Linked DNA regions of Homo sapiens: region 2 is linked to region 1. The links are contacts of gene promoters, found by promoter capture Hi-C in blood cells and fetal thymus (Javierre and others, 2016). All regions are on one chromosome and are shown on one strand. Each heading gives the region's core, a stretch centred on a gene start or on the middle of the fragment in contact. The rest is flanking DNA. Distances are from core to core; before and after follow the strand shown. Region 1 holds the start of ATRX (ATRX chromatin remodeler). Region 2 overlaps ATRX (ATRX chromatin remodeler).

Region 1 (2,700 bases), core at 20-2,519:
ACTTAATTCACATTGTGGGATGAAAATTCAAATGTCAAACTGAAACGCCAGCCAGCCACCTGGGTAAAAGTGTATACATTTCATATTGACTACCCAAATTTTCAGACCCGTCAAGAGGCAAATCAGAAGCACACAGAAAAACAGCTTCAACCTAATAAACGTGCTTGATTGGTTAAGAGGAGGCCTGCCAGGCATTTTCCCTTGCAATAAATCTTACTTCGCATCAGCCCACGTTAACCTGCCCTTCATCCTTCATGGAATAAATAAGTAAATAAAGATAGGGCCTAATTACTCCTCGAAATTTGCCCAGAAAGTGGGGAAACACTTGAGGTCCCATTAAGGCTGGACATCACAAAAAGTAGTATACTAGGGTCCTCTGGAAGCAAAACCCTGTGTTAAGTCCCCCCTCGCCTAGAAATAAACCCAAGGATATCCTTCAGGATATGGAGTAGAAAAGATACCTAAATACCTGGAACTGCACCACAACCCAATCAAAAAAAGGCTTGTCTCCTGGGGCTGCAGAAAAAAAATCCCGCAGGGCCCGGGTGCTTCCCATCTCCAGCAACCTAAACGCCTCTAAGTCGTCCTGGGATCTCACATCCTCGCGCCCGCCCACCCCTCCCCCTCTTCTCACCCTCCCCCCGCTTCTTCCCCACGCAGTTTCTAGGCCCAAAGATTAGCAAAAATGACCGGGATACCAAAGACCGCCTCCGACTTCGAGGTCTCAATCCCACAGGCACCAAAGAATAAACAGAGGAGCCCGACCAAGCGTCACCGTTTAGGGGAGATTGCAAGAAGCGCCCCATACCCTAGGCCGCGCCCCCCCCACCTCCCCCCACCCCATCCCCACCCCCACCCCCGTCGGAGCCTTGCGCCGATACCCCGAAACCCTTCTCACCTAAAGAGAAAACGATGCCTCTTTCGGCTAAGCAACACACAGGCCTAACCCACCAAGCGAACGCCTTCCCAAACACCCGACTCAGACGGTGCCTGGGCCCAGACCGCTGGGGCCCATGAGACGGGGTTGCGTTTTACCTCATGGGCTCAGCGGTCATGTTTTCGCTTGAACGCCTTGTCGGCTTCTGTGATTGCTGGGCGCCGATCTGCGCTCCCCCGCGCCCGGTTACGATAGAAATGCACTGGAGTCTTAGTCGTCACTGTAGCTGCTGCTGGAACCTCCCCACAGCTCAAAGGCCGCTACCACTGCCACCGCCGCAGGAGCCGCGGAAACAAAGCGACACCGCTGCCGCCGCCATTTTGTTGGGCCGAGGCTCAGGCAGGAGAATTGGCGCGTCCTCCCTCTTTCTCTTTCCGTCAGCCATTGGCTACCTCCTCCAAAGCACAGAGTCTTATTGGCTACGGAAATTCACCTTCTTTGGGGGCCTGTTGCTAAGGCGGTCGACGTCATTTGATCCCCTCCACCTTTTCGCAGGGGGTCCAATTTAGTCCCAATTGACCTGAAAGTGCTAGTGACATAGTTTGACTTTATTTTGAAAATGCTCTTTTGGTCCAACCTCTTTTTTCTTTGACATATTAACGAAGTAATAACAGCAACCTACATTTATTGAGAGTTTACTATATGCTCGGCACTACACTAATCCTTTATCCGGGTTATCTCATTTAATCTTTACACTCTCTGAGGTAGACAAACCTACATTTTCCAGATGAGGAAACCAAGACACAAAGTCCCACAGTAGTGGAGCCGAGATTCACCAGACACTCTTAACCACTAATCTGTATGGCCATCCTATGTAAGTATTTTCTTTCCTATATGCTAGGCTATCATCAAGTTATTTGCTTTCCTAGATGTTTTATACATAATATTTGGCACACCAACATGCTTGGAAATGTATATGTGTATAATATACTTATATATATGTATATGTGTGCAGACGACATAAGACCAACTTGAACGCTGCATAAAATTCTTTCCATATTGAATAAAGTGTCTCTTAGAATACACACACACACACACACACACACACACACACACACACACACACGGGCCATTTCCCCAATTTGATGTGATGTTTAGCTCACAAACCAATCAATTTAGATCTGCTTCCTTCTCATTACAGAGGAAGCTTGGCTGGATGATCTGTAAATGCCTTTCCCGCTTTTATGATCTATAATTTGATTTTACATTGGTAATCTCTGCTAATCACAAACAAGTCCTCTAAAATCTAATCGCTTCGAAATTTATTTCCAAATTTATTCTGCCATGCATGCTTTAGTTCATTCTATTTATTTTTCTTGAAATATGCAAGAGCTCCTGTCGGGGTTAGGTGACAGGGTTGCTGCTTTCTACTGGGATAGCAAGAGGGGAGCCTTTTTTGAATGAAACACTTTGAAAATCTGATAGGCTCAGGCAACTTTTTTTTTTTTTTTTTCTGAGACAGGGTCTAGCTCTGTCACCCAGGCTGGAGTGCAGTGGCGTGACGCAGTTCACTGCAGCCTCGACCTCCTAGGCTCAAGCAATCCTCCCACCTCAGCCTCTCAAGCAGCTGGGACTGCAGGCGCGTGCCATCAAGCCCAGCTAATTATGTATTTATGTATTGGTATAGATGAGGTAGGTCTGTCTGTTGCCCAGGCTGGTCTCAAACATCTAAGCTCAAGCCATCCTCCAACCTCGACCTCCCAAAGTGCTGGAGTTACAGGGGTGAGCCACCGCGCCTGGCCTCAGGCAACTTTTTAATCAAC
Region 2 (2,700 bases), core at 84-2,583, 280 kb before region 1:
CTTACCTGCTTTGTCATTAAAATGTCTGTCAGACCTCTCATTTTTCTACACAGAGGGAAAGAAAAGGTATAGCTTAGTAGGGGAGAGGGTTAGCCAAAGGGAAGGGATTTCTAGTACTGTTTACAAATTTACCCTGTAATCTTAGACAAACACATTGCCTTTTGGCTTTAGACTGTGCTTTGCTCAAAGTTTAACTCGGGGAGCTTAACAGGACTTAGGAAATCACCTGGTCTAGTCCCCTGCCTTCTAGCAGGCAAGGTATTATTATTGTCCCATTTTTCTCAAATTAGATATGAAAGACCTGGAAAATTTAACTAACTAGACTATGTCTTCTGCCTCCTTAAGTGCAACAGATTTGATTTTGGTTTCACTTATAACTTGTCATAAGGAAAATGGCATTATTTTCACTTCTCTCACAGATACGTTGTGTATAGGGTTAACACGATAACTACAAAGCACGTTGAAAATACTAAGGAAAGCTTATAAATATAACATTACCCACAAAGCTACTAGCACTTTGAATGAATGGGTCTCAAAGAAATGTAACAGAAATATTTGGATTTCACTTTTTTAAGAATTGGCTTGAGGAAAGAAGTAGAATTACACTCAATGGACCAATCTCACTTTCTGCAAATGTAAAGGAGTACAAAAAAAATTGAGAAAGAATAGGAATGTCGCTGACGAACATACCATTATGTTTGAGAGTAATCAGAGTAAGTGAATTTTGTGTGTAAAAATCAAAATTCTGAAACAAAGCCTCCTTAGGGGGAAAGTAAAATAACAGGTTTTTATTATAAGTATCATTGTAAAAGTTCACTATCCTATACAGCCTCTAATGATTTTTTTTTCTTTTGTCCTTCATACTTGGACCAATTATCTTCCTGTCTCCAATCTTCCACCTTGCATTCTAAACCAAATTACCCTCACCCAAATAGCCATCTTTACTTGCTAAACATTATCATCTGCCTCACAAACCCTTGTTATCCTCTGTACTGAATTACTCATTCAGGATTTCAAGGCTCTTCATCAATCCACTCCAATTTAGTCTCTTTCCCGATCCTTCTTTGCTCTCTTTCAGTACTATACTTTCTCCCCATATAACTAAAACAAATCCCATCCTTGCATATAAGCCATCTTTCTTCACCTTTCTTGAAAAACAACACATATACGACACAAGGAGCATAGGGATGGACCTGGGTATACTTAATAGGAAAGTCTCTTAATAGTCATTGTATTTGCAAAGCTGAAGATTACAGCCAAGCTCCCTCATCCCTTACATGTTTCTATCAGAGAAGGGTAGAATGTTCAGGAACTTAATGTGGGGGAGTGTTGCTGGGTAGAGATTGCTTGTGATATGCTGTATTAAAGACGGCCTGCCTGCAGTATTTTAGGATTTGCCTCACTCCTTCATTCTTTCAATTATAGTTGTATCCTTATCTTTACTAATGGCCTCAATTTATATGCTCTCTTTCTTGGTGAAGGTGTGTGCAACAGTCGCTATCAAAAAGATCCCTAGAAAGCGAGGAAGGATGATTCCCTTAGTTTAGTGGCACAATGGTGTCAGGAAGGTTGTTCCAAAGAGACGGTGGTAGTACCTATCATAATGGAATTTTATGGCAGCTCTTGGGGGTGAGCCACTATCCTGTTATTACATCCAACGCTAGTGATGTTAACAGTTTAGTTACCTGGCACATATTGAGCTTTGACACAGTATATATTTCGGATTTAAAACTTTATTCACCCCATATAATAGTATATATAAAATGTTGTGAAGATGAAAGCATTTCTGAAACTTGATCACTCCTTTGGGACTGGCTCAGATTATAGACTTGAAAAAAAATAACGGTAGAAAAATGTTTATTCTCTAAGGGTAGATCTGATTTGGAGATAGCCAAGTCACTTGAGACTGAGTCTGGTGAAATAAAGTAGTAAATACCCTGAACATAATTTTTAGTATAATAAACATGTAAAAGGATTGACCTGTTTTACTGGTAGAATAAGTCTCTATAGCCTCACAACATGCTACTCTCAAAGGAAACAAGGGCTACTGGGACAGAATGTAACTGCTCTTAAAGTTTTGTTTGGGGCACATAAATATCGATCTGATTTTATGATAATGGAGGGAAAATGAACATAGCTAAGGGAAGGCTACAAAATATTCAGCTCATTTGGAGGCCAGGTAATAAGGAAGCTTCTGAATGGTAAGCAGCTTTTCTATCAAGTGTGGGTTGGTAGCCCTGCTTGACTTAAAATGAGTGTTACAGCTGTTGGGAAACAGGAAATGGGGCTGGATTACACAAAGACATCCAAAACTAACACAAACACACATGGACTTCCTGGTATGTAAATTCTTTTTGAGATGAGAGATCTCCCTTTACAGAATTTAGTATATAACAGATTCAATAACCAAACTTCGTGACCTCTCAATATTAAATAACTAAATGTGCAAAAGAACCACCATTATATAGGACAACAAAAGCTATACATTTTCTATGAAACAGTATGTGCACAGATTTTCAAAGCTGTGAAAATACAATAAAGAGCACAACACATTTTGGTCACTTTATTAAATGACATTAAATAGTTTAAGTTTCAACTACTAAACAGCACTTTGAATGGTGAAAACACAGATAGTATATTGTCATACTTGAATGCTTTTCTTTAAAAACACAATTCCAGTCCTTATATATATTACAAAAC

The links. The method cuts DNA at HindIII sites, captures the fragments that hold promoters and counts their contacts. A CHiCAGO score of 5 or more calls a contact.
Region 2: a fragment that was not itself captured here is called in contact with the fragment with the promoter of ATRX in region 1 in 1 of 17 cell types (naive CD8 T cells); the score reaches 5.1 in naive CD8 T cells.

Annotation. Positions count from the first base shown.
Region 1 is chrX:77,784,947-77,787,646 of GRCh38, forward strand. ATRX (ATRX chromatin remodeler) reads right to left here and starts at 1,270. Exons shown (of 35, transcript NM_000489.6): 1 at 1,036-1,270. The coding sequence starts at 1,055. RefSeq lists a silencer at 884-933 and enhancers at 1,034-1,143, 1,154-1,343. The HindIII fragment of the contact is 7,766 bases long and covers 1-2,082 here.
Region 2 is chrX:77,503,165-77,505,864 of GRCh38, forward strand. It overlaps ATRX (ATRX chromatin remodeler), which reads right to left. Exons shown (of 35, transcript NM_000489.6): 35 at 1,716-2,700. Among named protein-coding and RNA genes, the nearest start is that of FGF16, 57 kb to the left of the region's middle. The HindIII fragment of the contact is 1,712 bases long and covers 478-2,189 here.